Linked DNA regions of Homo sapiens: regions 1, 2, 4 and 5 are each linked to region 3. Evidence: promoter capture Hi-C in 16 types of primary human blood cells and fetal thymus (Javierre and others, 2016). All regions are on one chromosome and are shown on one strand. Each heading gives the region's core, a stretch centred on a gene start or on the middle of the fragment in contact. The rest is flanking DNA. Distances are from core to core; before and after follow the strand shown.

Region 1 (3,584 bases), core at 457-2,956, 2.1 Mb before region 3:
TCCAGACTGATTTCCGCACACCAGCACTCGTAACACAGGGATAGATTCCTGAAAGAGGGACTGACCTGCACGAGAGTTTTCATCAGTGGAATTTTAATGAGCCCTAAAGGTTAGCCTTCGACTTCGTTAACAAACAGCTCTAGAGATAATTTCCAATTTTCAGTGTTTATAGAATAGTGGTTCCTTGGTCATAATGAAATTCTGAGACTGTCTAGAGCCTATTCTGCATGTCCAGCTGAGGCTGAAACACAAACCCTCAAAAACAATTAAACGTGTGCTCAAAATCAAATGCAGAAGAAATAAAAAGAGGAAGGCATTTTGCAAATTAAAGTGATCACATTAACCTCCTTTGATGAAATCGGTTCAGTCAAATGAAAAATACTTATTAAAAAAACAAACCCTGCACAGATATTTTAGCTATTGAGGGTAATGATTATTCTAATATTGAAATGGACACAGACAAGAAAAAAAAGAGAGATAATAAACAAAAGAGGAAAGCTTCATTCCCAGTAGCTAGAGACCAGAGTCCCTGTTATGTGTAAGTGGGTTGTAAATGTGTAGAAAAGAATATAGATGCAAATATTGCCAAAATTGACACTAAAGGATAAAGGATAGGTCAGTTTGTTGAAAATACGTCCCCTCTCCTTCTTCTCCCCTCTCCCTGCTTTCTCAGGTTCTACTGGGTCCTTGAAGAATTGCCATAATTGCACCAGAAAGGAAACAAGTATGACTGAGATTCCAGCCACATAAAACAAGAGCAATGGGTGGTTAAGACAAAGGGCCACATCTAAAGATTTCTTTTCCTCCAAAACTGGGTGGAAAATCCTTTCACTTTCTCCAAAAGGATGACCAAATCTCCTACTGGTATGGGGACCAACAGAAGATGCTTGAGCTGTAAATGCTGGGAGAAATATTCTTTAGTTTATTAAAGTTAGGCTAAATTTTATTTCTTCCAGTGCAACAAATCCCTTTCACTCCCCAGGCTAGCCACTTCCCTTCTTGATTCACAGAAGAATGGAAGGGGTTAAAAAACAAAACAAAAACCAGAGCTGGCCTGAAACTCTGCCACTCCAAGGGTGCAAGAGGTTAGGGAGCAAGGGGCCCCGCTGCGTGATGCTCTGGTCAGTTTTGGGCACGCAAGAGAGCATGGGGGGCATGAGAGTCGGGCAACTGACTTGGGTTCCAGTTCCAGTTTTGCATTTACTCCTTACTCCCCGTGTAATCCTGGTGGGGGCAGTCAATTCCTCAGAGTTGCAGTTTTCTCCTAGGGCTAAAGGGATTAATGAGTTCAGGTAATGTTAGCACTGGGGGGGATCTCAGGGATTATTTAATCAATTCTCCTCATTTTATAGACAGAAAACTAAATAACAATAACAGCAGTTATAATAATAAAAACAATTATAACTAATATTTTTGAGCATTTAACATGTGCTAGGCACTATTCTAAGCACTTTACAAGTATTCTATTATCTCAACTACCCTGGTTGGTAGATAGTACTGCTACTTCCATTTTACAGGTGGGGGAACTGAGATGCCGTGAGGTTCAATATCCAAGGTGGTACAGCTGGTAAATGGTAAAGCTGGGCTTCAAACCCAGATGGCCTGGCTACAGAGCCCATGCTCTTAAACGCTGTAGTTTAGTAAACCATGAATTCCCCATGGTTTGCACAGGGGTTGCACTCTTTTCAGAAAAGGGTGCACTGCCTGAATTCGTGCTGCATATGGTCCTGAAAACACAGACCCTACAGAGACATGTTTTCAGAATCATGGCAATGGCTGACGATGGCTAATCTGTTCCCTCCAGGTTCCCCGAGTTCATGGCTTCTCTCCAGCCAAATTTTCTCCCAGCCTGCTGTCACAGGTGTAGTGCAGTGCTCCCAGGATGCCCCGGTCTGTACGGTGCCCTTCCCAAGTCACACTGCCACTGCTCTTTAACTCTCTGCTGATGGCTTCTCCCTCTCTCTCTCCTTCACTCTCTCTCTCCAACCATTTCCTTGAACTTCACTTGAGCTGATATTACACTTGTATTTGAACACCCAGCATGACACTCTCTATTTCTTTGCTCCAGCACCAGTGCTTGACCATCTTTTGTTAGCCATTATGGATCAAAACTGCTTCTCGGGACAAAAATAAATGGCAGAAAGAGAGATCATGGCAGAATAAACACCACCACTGCAAAAGACAGTCTACTCTGGATAGTGTGGGAGCATACTCATTGGGTAAGAGTGGTTGCAGAATGGTGCATTATGCGCACTGGGGAGGGAGGAGATTACAGTTTGCCAGATTCACTCTCATCGGCTAATAGCACCCAGTGCCTAAGAAAAGTACATTAACAGTATATGGTAACAGACAGTTGCTGAAAGGACAATAGCATTAATATTAAATTACTGTTGCATAGAGAAGTGATAAATAGGTGATGTGTGTTCTAAGCTCAAAGAGGCCTGGTGACTTGCCTCAAGTTGACAAGTGGTAGTAGGTGGCAGAATCCTACTACAGCCTAGGTCCTCTATTTCTCAGGACACTGGTTTGCTGTTGGATAACATCAGACTCCTCAGGCTACTGTGAGGAACAGCTGAAATGAAAGCGCCATATGACAAATTCCAGACACCTGGACAAGGCACATAGGTCCTTTGTGATCTGGCCTCACCTGCCATTTCAGTCACGTATTTCGTGCCTTAATGTCCTCACACCTGCTGTCCCTTCTGCTTGAGGTGACAACTTCCCCAGTCCCCTCTCATCACTCCTCTTTCTCCAGCTGTAAACACCTGTTCATCTTTCAAGATCTGGCCACAAGGTTACTTTCTCTGTGAGGCTTCCTGTCTTCTCAGTATTTCCTGTAGTACACATGGTTAGAACGCTCGCTGTATAGGATAATGATTGACTGGTTATTATTCTCTCTCCCCTTCTTAACGAGGAAGCTTATTGAGGGCAGAGACTATATTTATTTCTCTTTTTATCTTCAGTGCCTAGCAAAGGGCATGGACCATCTTATTTACTCTAAATATACAAGGAAGGAAGAAAGAGAGGGAGAGAGGGAAGGAATATCCTCCTGAAACTATAAAGCAGTATAGAAATAAAAAGTTTTACTAACAAGAGAAAGATGCCCACTGTTTGATACCCTCCTACTGTTCAGGAATGAGCTTACTGTTTTCACAAGCAAAATGCTCTGACACAAAATGGGGCAGGCGACGATGAAAGCAGGAAGCTGACTTCTTACTCCCCATTTACCTGTCCGATGAAGAGGTACACAATTTCCCCAGGATAGAAGGAATGCCCTTCATTAATGCCATTTGCTAGCAGTAATTTAGTTAACTGAATAATCACACAAGGTAAAGAACACAGAGACTTAAGGATCTCTGTCTAATGCATGATACTAAGATATTTTATAAGGTGGCATGTAGTTAAGTGTGCTTAAATGCAATCACAGAGCATTTTCTTTGGTCATTTTCATCTGGAGGTTTTAGAAAAACCAGGAGAGAAAAGCAGCATCCTCAGGGATTTTTCCTTAGAGTACAATTTTTACAAAAAGCTGAGTGTACAACTTGCAAAATAATAAGCTTCAGTGATAACACAAGCTTCAGCTA
Region 2 (3,616 bases), core at 478-2,977, 2.2 Mb before region 3:
GTAATATTAAAGAAATAGATACTTCCTATATATACACAGTGGCAGAGATTTAAAAGAAGGTGAAAAGCTTTCCAGCTCATTATATTAGGATGGCATAATCCAGACACCAATATGCAAGGAAAGCACAAAAATTTAGGCCATCAAATTAATCTCATTTCTGAAAATAGATGAAAAAAAATTAACTTTTAACAAATTTAGTAAAGTTCATTAAAATTATTAATAATATATTATGATCAAATAGGGTTTATTCCAGGAACATAAACATTGTTCTATATATGAAAATCTATTCGTGTAATCTGCTTCATTGATGGATAGATGCTAATAAAAACATCTGATAAAATTCAACATTCATTCCTAATAACAATTCTTGATAAGCTAAATATAGACAGTCATACTTACAATTTGAGAAAGGATATTGAAAATAAGCCAAGAACAGGCATTATACTTAATAGTGAAATACTAGAATTACTTCCTTTAAAATGAGGAGCAAGGCAAAGAGGCTACAATTCCACTTTGCTCTAGAGATGCTGGTCAATACGATAAGATGGAAAATAAGTTGTGTAAATTTTGAAAGGGAAAGCAATTTAGGAAAATCCAAGACAGTCAAGTGAAAATCTGGTAAGAGAGCTCAGTAAGGTGGCAGGATAAGAGAGAAGTTTTCCTATACAACAGTAATAATACAATTAGGCCGGGCGTGGTGGCTTGCACCTGTAATCCCAGCACTTTGGGAGGCTGAGGTGGGAAGATCACTTGAGGTCAGGAGTTCAAGACCAGCCTGGCCAACATGGTGAAACCCTGTCTCTGCAAAAATAACAAAAATTAGCTGTCTGTGGTGGCACGTGCCTGTAGTCCCAGCTACTTGGAAGGCTGAGGCAGAAGAATTGCTTGAACCCAAGAGGCGGAGGTTGCAGTGAGCAGAGATTGCCTCACTGCACTCTAGACTGGGTGACAGAGTGAGACTCCATCTCAGAGACAAAAAAAATTGGCCGGGTGTGGTGGCTCATGCCTGTAATCCCAGCACTTTGGGAGGCCAAGGTAGGCAGATCACCTGAGGTCAGGAGTTCGAGGCCAGCCTGACCAACATGGAGAAACACTCCTCTCTACTAAAAGTACAAAATTAGCCAGGCCTGGTGGCACATGCCTGTAATCCCAGCTACTCGGGAGGCTGAGGCAGGAGAATCGCTTGAACCTGGGAGGCGGATGTTGCAGTGAGCCGAGATTGCACCATTGCACTCCAGCCTGGGCAACAAGAGCGAAACTCCATCTCAAAAAAAAAAATTAATAAAATTAAATGTATAAAAGATCCCATTTATAAAACCAATAACAACTGAAATATGTCCAGGAATAAACATAGCAAGAAATACGTGAGATCTACAGAGAAAAGTACAAAATCTTACTGAAGGACACACAAGAAAACTTGCATAAAAGTAAAAATATGTCATATTCCACAGGGCATGCTAATTTCCCCCAAATTAGTACATAATTTGAAAGTCAGTCAACATAAATCTAAATTTCATTAAGAAAAGAAATAAAAAAATGGCCAAGAAAAAATAGAAAGTGTAGAAGAGTGAAGGAGGACCTGTCCTAACAGGATCTATTAAAACAAGCTACCAGTTAAAGTCACTAAAAAACTCTGACACTGGCACACGAACTGGCAGAAAGATAAAAAAAATACCGAGTCCAGAGAAGGTCCCGTGTACAGAAGAATCGGTCTGTGAGCTGGTACCTGAACCAGTGTGGAAGGCTTGGGATGTTCAATAAATGGTTTTGAGGCCACTGGATATTTATTTAAATAATAAAATTCGAGCCTTATGTCATTATACATATAAAATATATATTCCAGATGGACTAAAGATAAAAACATAAAAATGCAAAATTATAAAAGTGCTAAAGAAAATATACAATAAACTTTTATAATCCTGAAGGTAGTGAAGGCCTTTCTAAGCAAGACATAAAACCTAGAATTTATAAAGGACTGACAGATTCAACTCCATAAAAATTAAAATCTTCTGGCATTACATAATGGTAAAGGGATCAATGCAACAAGAAGAGCTAACTATCCTAAATATATATGCACCCAATAGAGGAGCACCCAGATTCATAAAGCAAGTTCTTAGAGACCTACAAGGAGACTTAGACTCCCATACAATAATAGTGGGAGACTTTAACACTCCACTGTCAATATTAGACAGACCAATGAGACAGAAAATTAACAAGGACATCCAGGACTTGAACTCAGCTCTGCACCAAGCGGACCTAATAGACATCTACAGAACTCTCCACCCCAAATCAACAGAATATACATTCTTCTCAGCACCACATCACACTTATTCTAAAATTGATCACATAATTGGAAGTAAAACACTCCTCAGCAAATGTAGAAGAATAGAAATCACAACAAACTGTCTCTCAGACCACAGTGAAATCAAATTAGAACTCAGGATTAAGAAACTCACTCAAAACCGCACAACTGCATGGAAACTGAACAACCTGCTCCTGAATGACTACTGGGTAAGTAACGAAATGAAGGCAGAAATAAAGATGTTCTTTGAAACCAAGGAGAACAAAGACACAGCATACTGGAATCTCTGGGACACATTTAAAGCAGTGTGTAGAGGGAAATTTATAGCACTAAATCCCACAAGAGAAAGCAAGAAAGATCTGAAGTTGACACCCTAACATCACAATTAAAAGAACTAGAGAAGTAAGAGCAAACAAATTCAAAAGCTAGCAGAAGACAAGAAATAACTAAGATCAGAGTGAACTGAAGGAGATAGAGACACAAAAAAACCTTCAAAAAATCAATGAATCCAGGAGCTGGATTTTTGAAAAGATCAACAAAATAGATAGACTGCTAGCCAGACTAATAAAGAAGAAAAGAGAGAAGAATCAAATAGATGCAATAAAAAATGATAAGGGGGACATCACCACTGATTCCACAGAAATACAAACTACCATCAGAGAATACTATAAACATCTCTATGCAAATAAACTAGAAAATCTAGAAGAAATGGATAAATTCCTCGACACATACACCCTCCCAAAACTAAACCAGGAAGAAGTTGAATCTCTGAATAGACCAATAACAGGTTATGAAATTGAGGCAATAATTAATAGCCTGTCAACCAAAAAAGTTCAGGACCAGACGAATTCACAACTGAATTCTACAAGAGGTACAAAGAGGAGTTAGTACCATTCCTTCTGAAACTATTCCAATCAATAGAAAAAGAGGGAATCCTCCCTAACTCATTTTAAAAGGCCAGCATCATCCTGATACCAAAACAGAGACACAACAAAAAAAGAGAATTTTAGACCAATATCCCTGATGAACATTGATGCGAAAATCCTCAATAAAATACTGGCAAACCGAATCCAGCAGCACATCAAAAAGCTTATCTACCATGATCAAGTCGGCTTCATCTTTGGGATGCAAGGGTGGTTCAACACACGCAAATCAATAAACGTAATCCATCACATAAACAGAAGCAATGACAAAAACCACATGATTACCTCAATAGATGCAGAAAAGGCCTTTGACAAAATTCAACAGCGCTTCATGCTAAAATCTCTCAATAAACTAGGTATTGATGGGATGTATCTCAAAATAATAAGAGCT
Region 3 (3,413 bases), core at 914-3,413:
TCCTATGTGCCAGGCACTTTTCAAGACAATGATAATATAAAAGTAAACTAGGGGCCAGGTGCAGTGGCTCACACCTATAATCCCAGCACTTTGGGAAGCCAAGGCAGGCAGATCACTTGAGTTCAGGAGTTCCAGATAAGCCTGGCCAACACAGTGAAACTCCATCTCTACTAAAAATAGAAAAATTAGTGGGGCATGGTGGCGCTCACCTGTAGTCCCAGCTACTTGGGAGGCTGAGGTATGAGAATCGCTTGAACCTGGGAGGTGAAGGTTGCAGTGAGCCAAGATTGTGCCACTGCATTCCGGACTGGGTGACAGAGCGAGACTGTCTCTCATTTATTTAAAAAAAAAAAAAAAAGTAAACAGGAGTTTACAAACTAAACAAGAGCTTACATTCTAATGAGAGACAAAGAATGAACAGAATAAGTAAATTCTACAAACTATTCACAAGTGGTAAAAACTATGGAGAAAACTAAAGCAGAAACACATTAGGGGGAGAAAGACAAAATTTTTTCAAAGCGTGAGAAAAAGCCCACCTCGAGAGCAACATTTGAGCAACAATTTTCATTTGTAATGAGAAAATACCGACTTCGTAAGGTTGTTACAAGCCTTGTTAACACAGCATGGGCCTCACCTGAAAGCTTGTTAGAAGCTCAGAATTTCAGGTCCCATCTCAGACCTACAGAATCAGAATCTGAATTTTAACAAGGTCCCCTGGTGATTTGTAAGCATATCAAAGTTTGAGAAGCATTAATTAAAAGGATTAAATATTTGCGTCTGAACCAGGGCTGGCATATTATAGGCACTCAATAGATTCAATAATTCTTAGTTTTCTTTCCCCATTAACATAACCCTTATATCTTTCTAGTTATAATTAAGAATGAATGGCCAGGCACAGTAGCTCACACCTGTAATCCCAGCAGTTTGGGAGGCTGAGGTGGGAGGATTGCTTGAGGCTGGGGGTTTAAGACCAGCTTGGACAACATAGTGAGACACCAACTGTACCAAAAAAAAAAATGAAAAAATAAAGATAGCATTGAGTCTCTTCAATTAATTATGAATATTAAGCATATCCTGCCATTTACTTCCTTGCAGATCTAGCAGAAAATCTGAAAATAAAGCCAAGTTGCAGACAGAAGACAAAGATAAATTCACATGCAGACAAATTCAAACTCCTGACTACATTAATGTCTCTCATTGGTGGCCAAATTTCAGTCTAATCTTTGCTAATGTTTTTCACCACCCACAAATAAGAGAGACTGAGTGTGTCCCTTGACATTTGGAGATCAGGAAGTCCACCTTAAAAAGACAAGAGGCCAAAATGTTGGGAAAATCCTCTGGTGATAAAGGGAAAGCAAAAATTGTTTAAAAACAGAACAAAATATAAGTAAATAATTCAGGTTGCTTAAGTACTGTTTTCGTTTACAGAAACAGCAACTTCAAATGAGACGATATAAACCTGTATGATTTTTCTTATAATTTGCCTCCTGCAAATAAGCTTAAGTCTTTGTCTACCTTAGTCTTCTCTTTCCTAGCTACATATCACAACATACTTCCTTACTGCCTTCCTTCCGTCTTTTCTTCAACGCTTCTGTAAATTTTGATTTCAAAAGCAACGGCACAATTGCGTTCTTCTAGCCCTAGTTACGCAGTAATATAACGACAGGTGGAAACCTGCAGGTTGCCACGTTCATTGCAAAGTGTCCACAGTAAAGATAAAGGAGAAATTCCCCCGGCAATGAAAACGAGAATGAGATAAATTACCAAATTACATTAAAAGCGTGCTCTTATGTTAGAGATTTAAAGTTCCTCTCAGAAATCGCGGAGGATTTTGACCTGAAGCAAAAGTGAACTTCTTCCGGGTGGTAGAAAAGTAAACTGTCAACTATTTACTTTGGGGGGGTGGCGGGGGGAGGGTGCTGGGAAGGAATTGAGGCGAAAAGCCTCTGCAGGTGACGGTACAGGCCAATACCAGGAGGTCAAGTCGCCGGTGTCCCTTCGGCCCTTAAGTCCAGGGAAACGCACGGCGAGGGACGAGGGGCGATTCCCGCCTTTCTCCAGCCCTTTCTCCGCCCACAAATGACGGCGGTGGCGAAGATCCGGGCCCGCCGCGCGAGGCACTCTGGGAGCGGAAGAAGGAGGCCGCGCGAGGGCTGACGAACCGGAAGAAGAGGAACTGGGCCTGAAAGGGTACCGGTGACCGCTACTGCTGCCGGTGTTTGCGTGTGGCAGGGAGCCAGGCCTGGCGAGCGGGGTGTGTCGCGATGCCGGAGCTGGCAGTGCAGAAGGTGGTGGTCCACCCCCTGGTGCTGCTCAGTGTGGTGGATCATTTCAACCGGTGAGCGAGCGCCCTATAGCTGGGCCGGCGGCGCAGCCGCTGCTGAGTCACGGGCACGCTGGAGATGGCGCGGCGGCCGCGGACGAGCTGGGGACGCAGATAGGGCGGCTGGTGACCCTTACTTGTTCACGAGTCCAGACCAGCGTCGGCTCACGATGCCGGAGTCATCCAGCCTCCCGCCCCTGCCCCAGCCGCCGCCACTTCGGGGCCTTGGCTGCCTGTTCCGTTTAGCCTGTTTGTTTTACAGAGTTCCCTTTCCGAGTTCGTTTTGCCGAAGTTCGTTTTACCGAAATCTGGATGATGCTGGGGGTCGGGAGATGCGGCTAGCTTTAGTTGGCCCTGACCCCCGCCCCCAAGCTCGTGTCTGTCACTTCGTTTTGAAGTTCGTTTTGCCGAAATCTGGATAAAGCCAGGGTGGGGCGGAGGCGGGCTAGCTTCATTTGGCTCTGACCCCCGACCCCAGGGTCGTATCTTCATTTGACTCAGTTGATTTCACTGAAATGTGAATAATGCAAAGTGACTGATGTCTGGATGATGCTTGGGTGGGGCGGAGTGGGCTAGCTCCATTTAGCCCCGCCCCAAGGCTATGTTTATCTTCGTTTGACCGAATTGGTTTCACCGAAATATGGATGATGCTGGAGTGGGGTGCAGGGTGGCTACCTTCATTTGGCCCTGACCCCGGCCCCAGGGTCGTATTTATGTTTATCCTCGTTTAACCAAGTTGATTTCACCGAAATGTGAATGATGCAAAGTGAATGATGCCTGGATGATGCCGGAGTGGGGCTAAGGGGGCTAGCTTCAATTTGGCCCTGACCCCCGCCCCCAGGGTCGTATCTATGTTTGTCTTCATTTGACCGAGTTCCTGTTATCGAAATCTGGATGATGCTCAGCACCCCGAAGGGCTTCCTGGATCAGCTGTGGTTTTAACCCATTAACATTTTTAAATGGGAATCTGATTAGACTCCGTCTCAAAAAAAAAAATGTATATATAGATGAGGTTTCAGTTTTTATTTAAAACACGAGGCCGAGCATGGTGGCTCACGCCTGTAATCCCAGCATTTTGGGAGGCTGAGAC
Region 4 (3,684 bases), core at 288-2,787, 2.2 Mb before region 3:
ACAGATTAGGAAATGGAGGCTGCCACGTAGAGGAGAGGAAAGATAATTTAGCGCATTCCCCGTGGCTCAATAAATAGCAACTTTTATTATCACTGTTGTGTGTCTCCAAACTAATGTTGAGGGCAGTGGGTGAAGGTGGGCTCTGAAACCAGACTTCCCACGTTGGAATTGTGACTCTGCCACTTATTAGTTTTGAGACCAGGGGCAAGTTACTTAGTTTCCCAGGTCCTCTCTTTCCTCATCCATAAATGGGGATCATGACTATACTGAACACAGGAGGTCTTATGAAGATGAAATGAGCTCATATGTGTCAACGCTTAGTACCTCACACACAGCAAATAATATGTATTAGTTGAGCTACTATCATCATTAAAAGTTGGTTTTCTTTCAAATAAGAACAGGAGAACTCAAGAGTGAGTTCTTTGTGAAAGAGAACTTCCTGGACTTGGCACAATAGAAGAAAAAGACTGAAGTTATCTGTTACCTTGAGAATCTGACAACTTTTCTTTTACTTACACCCTAGTAAAAAGTTTCGTGGTCTTTTCTAGAGGAAATCAAGTAGAGAATTCATCCTCAACCTCTTCTGTGGGCATATGCTCTACCCTTTTGCTCTCTACAAAGCTGGCCAACCTTGAGGTCGCCTCTTCCCCCGCCCAGTAGCCCCTCACTCCCAGTGCTGGTGGGTCTGGAGAGGGGGTCTCAGCAGTGCCCTCCTTTCCCGGCTCTCTGGCTCCCTCCTGTCAGCATCCCCAAAGCCTTCAATATCCCATACAGCTCATCCACATCCTGACTTCTCAATTCATTGGCCTCCTTATTCCAAAGGTCTCATCCTTCTCTTCAACTCAGCCATGTACCTAAGGCCAAAGCCTAGAATAGGGCTTTCCACCTGGGGTGCCACGAATGGATTCCAGGTGTTTGGAGATGCCTGCCTGCCCTTGGGGGCAGGCTCTGAGGCAGCCACTGCTTGGTCAGCTTTGTCACAAGTATGCCAAACAAATGTGGTTACTTTCATCGTTTTTTAGAGACAGGGTCTCATTCTGTCACCCAGGCCAGAGTGCAGTGGTGTGAACATAGGTCACTGTAGCCTCAACCTCTTGGGCTCAAGCAATCCTCCCACCCCAGCCTCCCAATTAGCTGGGACTGTACGTGTGCACCACCATGCCTGGTTAGGCTCATTTTTAAATTTTTTATACAGACAGGGCCTTGCTGTCGTCCAGGCTAGTCTTAAACTCCTGGGCTCAAGTGATCCTAAACTGTGGTCATTTTCTTTTTCACTTTTATTTTATTTTCACTTTTAGTTTAGATTCAGGGGTACATGTTACATCGGTAAACTCATGTCACAGGATTTTGTTGTACATTTTATTTCATCACCCAGGAATTAAGCCCAGTACCCAATAGTTATCTTGTTTGCTCCTCTCCCTCCTCCCACCCTCCACCCTCTGACAGACCCCATTGTCTGTTGTTTCCTTCTTTGTGTTCCTAAGTTCTCATCATTTAGCTCCCACTTACAAGTGAGAACATGTGGTACTTGGTTTTCTATTCCTGTGTCAGTTTGCTAAGGATAATAGCCTCTAGCTCCATCCATATTCCCACAAAGAAATGATCTCATTCTTTTTGATAGCTGCATAGTATCCATGGTGTTACGTAAGGCATGGTTGTTTTCTAAGTGTTCCCTAAGAAAAGGTTGGGAAGCGCTGTCCTAAGGCTTGTTGTTACTTGTTACTTTGCCACCTCCAAAATCTCAGTTTTAGGCCTTCATACCTTCACCTCCATTCTCAAACTGGTAACACTCCTCGCATACCTCCCTCTTAGTGGACCCAGCTTTGACCATGAGGGGAAGCAAGACCACAGGCCCCCAGATGAGCAGGTGGAACAGAAGGGCTCCTCCAACCTGGCCTGCTCACCTGATGATTTCATGAAGAGATGTTCCTTGTTTGTTCCTTCACTTGGGATCTGTTAGAGCATCTCAGCCCCTGCCCTAAATAATCCAGTCTGCCTTTCAGTGCCTGTTCCCTGCTTAGCACCCTTGACCTCTGAGAACCATGAGAGCAGGAAGGAGCAAAAAGACTACTAAACTCCCTTTGGATTTTTGGTGAGAGAACTAAGGCCCTGAGAGGTCAAGTGATATACCCAAGGTCACATAGATGCAGATTCGAGACCTGGGGGTCTTTCCAAAGCACCAGGCCTTTCCTGGGCTGATCCCCCTATCAAGGGCTAAAGCCAGCCCTGGCTCCCTGCTGACCCTTCTTGTCAGCTCCCAGGAAGCAGCCAGGGTGGTTTAAGATGACTTACTCCTTTTCGCCACTCAGCTTGGCAATGTATTTCACCTGCTCTCGGAGCTGGTTTCCTAGTTTCTCATTGGCGACCCTGTAATAAAATCACAGGAGAAAACAGCAGCCAGTCGCCAGCCTCCCGCGAGCAAGGGTGCAGCTGGCTGAATGGGATGCTGGGTTCTCAGCAAGACTGCTGCTGCATCCCACGTCCCCCACGCATCACCCCGTCCGCAGAGCTAAGGCCTTCCTAGCACCTGGGGATTCAGAGGACTCTCTGAACTCAACTCCTATGCAAAATCCTGTGAGCCCCAGGTGAGTTCAAGGGAATGAGTTCAAGGGGGCCAGGCAGTGAAGCTGGATCCTGGGATGGGAGGAGGATATCTGAGCCAATGTCCCCCTTCCTTCTTGCTGCCGAGCAAAGCACCCCTTCCTTCCTGCCATCGCTGTTTCCAGCTCAGCAGAGGGCTTTCCAGGCCTGCCTGAAGGGTTGAGCCCTCCTCTCCATCTTATTTCCATCCCTTGGGTGTGGGCTGAGACTGGATCTGTTTTCCAGGAGTGCAGGGGTGTGTGTGACTAATCTTTGGCACGCATGTGGCTCCTCGGCTCAGTCCAGGCCTCGGACCCTGCCTCCCTTTTTCCTCCCATACTCACTTCTGCTGTTTTGCCCATTGCTCCAAGTTGGTCATAATCTGATCATTCCCTCGGTAGAGCCTACAGGTGTCTTTGGGCACAGACCACTGGGGCAGGCAGCAGGGCTTGGGTACAAGAAGAAAACGAGACAGTCAGAGGTGGGAGCACAGGCCTGTCAGCCCTCCTTCCGAGTCAGGCCTCTTCTATCTCCCTGGGAAAAGAAAACTTGACTCTGCTGTCCAACCCGAGGCCAGAGTTGTGGAGTTGCCACCAGACCTCCCCCTCTGGCTTGTGCGGGTGGCATCTCACACAAAGGTGACATCTCTGAGAAGGCACCATTTATGGCAGAGACACGTAGATTTGTACACTTATAATCACGGTTTTCAGTGTGAAGGCATTAAAGTGACTCCTAAAAAAGAAGTATGCTAAGCCAATTTTCCAACAGATGGAAGAAAAACATCTGGAGGAAGAGGAAGAGATGCCTTCTTTTTCTCTCTTCTTTTTTTTGACACTCTTGCTCTGTCATTCAGGCTGGAGTGCAGTGGCATGATCACGGCTCATGGCAGCTTAACCTCCCCCCCGGCTCAAGCTATCCTCCCACTTAGCCTGCCGAGTAGCTGGGACCACAAGCATAGGCCACCATGCTCAGCTAACATTTAAACTTATTGTAGAGATGAGGTCTTGCTATGTTGCCCAGGCTGGTCTCAAACTCCTGGACTCAAGCAGTCCTCCTGCCTTGGCCTCCCAAAGTGTAGGGACTGCAGGCATGAGCCACTGTGCC
Region 5 (3,645 bases), core at 286-2,785, 2.1 Mb before region 3:
GAAGGAAACATACCATAATTTGAATAGAGGTTGTCTTTAAGTGGTAGAGCTTGGTTTTCCCCTATTTGATAAATTCTTTTGCATTTCCTAGATTTTCTATATAAACATTTAATGACTATTTAATCAGAAAAATGAGCTCCAACGAGAAAACACAGAATGAAGAATGATGAAGACTTAGTGGAGACAGGAGGTATGAGAGAGGGCTCAGAGACAGTACTCGGCCTTGCATTTTTCTCCAGGCCTTGCAGGATGCAAGGTGGACAGTGCTGCAGTCCTGTGGATCTGGTGCCCTAGGCTCTGCAGACACATTGAGGGGACCCAGGGCTCTGAACAAATGGCCAGATGGTAAGAACACATCCCTCGAGTTGTTTCTTCCAGTTGCATTTTTCCCTAATCACTGTCTGCTTTGGGAAAGGTCGATCAACCTAGCAAAAGTACCCCCTGGACATCTTCACTAGGTCCACTGACTGCTCCCCAGAACTCTCAGTTTCCTGAGGATTGTGCCCTTTCCCTTCCTTTCCTGCTGCAGCTTCTCAGCCTAAGCGAACCTAGAGAGAGCAAGGGTGGGGAAGGAGAGCAGGGGTATGTGATTGCGCTGAGAACACCAAAAGCCCATAAAGTCTGAAAGGTTAAGCAAAGACTGAGGCATGAAGAGTGAAAATTCTCCATTCAACAATAATCCTCGCCCCCTGCCACCCCTGACATCTCTTCTTAAAATGGAAAGAAAGGGTGCATGATGACATTAGGCACTTTAAAATATGCAAAATTAGGAGCTGGTGCAGACCTCATTAACACCCGCCTCCAACATCATTAAGATGTTTCCAAGAAAATTAATTGAGAGACTCATTAAAAATAAATTAAGAAAAATGTGTTGCAGAGCGCCTGCACTCAGCTCATAAATCACAGCTCAGTGCTCTGGCCCGCTGCTCCGGCAATTAACTCCAACCTATTTGTTTTATCCTGACTGTGAAAATTAGAAAGCAGACGTGGAGATTAGATTAGGAATGTCTGTCAAGCGGAACTTGGAGTGAATATTTTAGGATACAAAATGGAAACCAGGAAAACAAAGACAGCAGAGATTTCATTCTGAGGAGCTTGTCTTTGAAAAGTGACAGGCAGATGAAGGGTGCTGGAGGGAGAGTATGGGGAAGGAGTACCTACTCTCGGGAAGGATGAAGGGGGAGAGAAAAGAACAGATGTTTAAACTCTTCTGACCAGGAATCGTGCAATACATTTGCATTATAAATATAAACAGTTACACATCTTAGTAAAGCTGGCATTGAGACATAAAATTGATGTTCCTGATGATACTTCATATGTCATACTTTAATGTTTAGACATAGAGTCATTTGGTTGAATCACTCGAAAGAGTTACTGGTCTCTTGCAATATTTTATGTATCAGTGATGACCACATGTTCCTCTATATGAGGTGAAATATGCCAGCCTCTTCCCTGTATCTCTCACTTAACAACAGTTATTGAGTAGCAGGCACTTTGCCGGGCTCAGGTATATGTGTCACTTCATTTAATTTTCGTAACTCCAAAAAAGAAAACCATTTTACAAGATGTTGAAACTGAAGCTCAAAGTAAAGCAATATGCATGGGAGTCGTGTGGCCAGTAAGTGGCAGAGTTGGGGTTGCAATCCTGGTGGGGTTTTTTGGTTTGGTTGGTTGGGTTTTTTTGAGTCTGGATCTTGCTATGTTGCTCAGACTGGTCTTGAATTCCTGGTCTCAAGGGACCTTCCTGCCTCACCTTCTCAAGTAGCTGGGTTAAAGGCACTCACCACCATGCCTGGCATAACCCTGGCATGTTAAACCTAAGATCAGTGCAGCCCTCAGCTTCTTTTCATTCCAAAGTTCATTTCAGGTCACTGTATTTTCCAAGCCTCAAACTAGAAAGGCTTTTTGTTCTTCCCTCCTTCCTCCTTCTATCTCTTATTTCCACAAATATTTTATTGCATGCTTGCAATATGCCAAGCATGGTATCAGGTCTGGGGGGATAGAGCAGTGGGCTTGTTGAGTTTGGGAAGACAGGTGCTGGTTAAGTCACTGCAAATGTGAGGGTCACTGCAGAGACCACAGCACAAAGGGAAACAAAGACTGTGCCCATCCCTCAGGTCATTTGTTGAATACCTGCTATGTAACGGTGCTGAGGACCCAGATGTTAGACTGCCGACTCTCCCACTTACCAGCTATGAGATGTTGGGTAAGTTATTTAATCTCTCAGTTTCCACATCTGTAAAATGGGGATAGTATTAGTACTTACCTTGGAGTTTTTTGTTTTTGTTTTTTTCTTTTTTGAAGATGAAATGAGAAATCCATGAGAAGCCCTTAGCAAAGTGCCTGGCTTAGAGTAAGCTCTGGGTAAATGTCAGCAGTTATTATTTAAAGGTGACATTTAAGTTGACTCTTAAAGGAGCAGTAGGAATTCAATCAGAATTCCATTTCTGGGGACAGCTGCAGTCTTATAGGTGGTATTTAAAATTATTTGGCTCTTTCAAATAAAAAGGGGAGTGAATAATCTTGGGTATTAATAAAAGGCTAGCCAGCTTGTCATGACACACAGCCTCACTGGGTCATGAATATGCTACCCCAGGCTGTGCATGGGAGTGGGATGCAGCAGGGCAAGAACTGGGGGGAAGTTTTGCTTCCTGTTCTCCAGGACATCTCAAAGGCACTGGGGAAAAAAATCCCATCCTGCACAAGGAAGAAAGGTTAAAGTTGAGGAGTATGTCACAGCACCGAATTTCCATGGCTCTTTCCTGCCTTGCCTAGGAGACAGTTGTGGATCAGTATTAGTGAACTGGCATTACTAATCTTTGGAAATTCAGTGACAGTGAGTGGATTGCATTTTATTTTTCATTTTGTTTTAATCTTGTTTTTAAAAGACTGGGTGTAGTTCCCGATTACAGGTCTGTTGGCTCATCCTTAATTGCAAGGCTCTTGTAACCCAGAAGATGCCAATATCCAAGTGGGTACTCAGCTGGCTGTTCTGATATGGCCCTAACAGTTGTTTACAGTTGGTGTTCTCAGTGTTCCTTATGACCAGTCAGTGGCTGGGCTGTAAAATTATTCAGTGTTTTGAATACCATGCTGGACCAAGGCAAAGTTTGAAATATATGAAGCATGAGAATAAAAGACTTCCTAGGTAGCAGGTCACCTGCCCAAATCATAAGTAAGGGCCAACAAGCTAGAGCTGCTGAGTAGAGTACCCTGAACAGGAAAAGGACAAAAACTAGTAGACATGACAAAGGAGGGCTGCTGCATGGTCAAAGGCACCAGGAACCTATCAGAGGATGGGGCTACAGGACTTACCTTCTGAAACTACAAGCTTTACTGAAAGGAATATAATACATGAAGAGAAACACATTGGAAAATTACTAGCTAAGAATAGAAATTTCCTTCTTAAAGGTTCCTATCTATACCTTAAAGGCCAGAGATCTATTGAAGGGCAAACACCTGGGAAGGATAGCATTGCAAATTCTTACCTTCAGGATGAATTTCACACCCTTTCCAGATGACAGATTTGACACTGGAAATGAAGTAAACAGACACGACCCTGGTCTGCAGAAGAGAGGTACTGCACTGAGTTCTCTGAAGTGATAAAAATAAAGCCAACCTATTTCAAAAATTTGTCCAGGGCTG

The links. The method cuts DNA at HindIII sites, captures the fragments that hold promoters and counts their contacts. A CHiCAGO score of 5 or more calls a contact.
Region 1: a fragment that was not itself captured here is called in contact with the fragment with the promoter of PSMD7 in region 3 in 1 of 17 cell types (M1 macrophages); the score reaches 6.6 in M1 macrophages.
Region 2: a fragment that was not itself captured here is called in contact with the fragment with the promoter of PSMD7 in region 3 in 1 of 17 cell types (M2 macrophages); the score reaches 5.7 in M2 macrophages.
Region 4: a fragment that was not itself captured here is called in contact with the fragment with the promoter of PSMD7 in region 3 in 10 of 17 cell types (M2 macrophages, total B cells, naive B cells and 7 more); the score reaches 14.2 in M2 macrophages.
Region 5: a contact is called between a fragment that was not itself captured here and the fragment with the promoter of PSMD7 in region 3, in 1 of 17 cell types (M2 macrophages). The highest score is 5.4, in M2 macrophages.

The regions. Positions count from the first base shown.
Region 1 is chr16:72,243,830-72,247,413 of GRCh38, forward strand. It overlaps a transcript of PMFBP1 not described here. Among named protein-coding and RNA genes, the nearest start is that of PMFBP1, 73 kb to the left of the region's middle. The HindIII fragment of the contact is 2,420 bases long and covers 497-2,916 here.
Region 2 is chr16:72,142,775-72,146,390 of GRCh38, forward strand. The region is part of intron 5 of PMFBP1 (polyamine modulated factor 1 binding protein 1); the gene reads right to left. Among named protein-coding and RNA genes, the nearest start is that of PMFBP1, 28 kb to the right of the region's middle. The HindIII fragment of the contact is 3,324 bases long and covers 66-3,389 here.
Region 3 is chr16:74,294,651-74,298,063 of GRCh38, forward strand. It overlaps PSMD7 (proteasome 26S subunit, non-ATPase 7), which reads left to right and starts at 2,164. Exons shown (of 7, transcript NM_002811.5): 1 at 2,164-2,338. The coding sequence starts at 2,265. RefSeq lists enhancers at 1,397-2,288, 2,079-2,388, 2,289-3,178. The HindIII fragment of the contact is 3,645 bases long and covers 1,497-3,413 here.
Region 4 is chr16:72,120,622-72,124,305 of GRCh38, forward strand. It overlaps PMFBP1 (polyamine modulated factor 1 binding protein 1), which reads right to left. Exons shown (of 21, transcript NM_031293.3): 18 at 2,925-3,028; 19 at 2,293-2,367. Among named protein-coding and RNA genes, the nearest start is that of DHX38, 29 kb to the left of the region's middle. The HindIII fragment of the contact is 6,407 bases long and covers 1-3,684 here.
Region 5 is chr16:72,220,474-72,224,118 of GRCh38, forward strand. It overlaps a transcript of PMFBP1 not described here. Among named protein-coding and RNA genes, the nearest start is that of PMFBP1, 50 kb to the left of the region's middle. RefSeq lists enhancers at 194-1,453, 2,741-3,645. The HindIII fragment of the contact is 3,587 bases long and covers 1-3,329 here.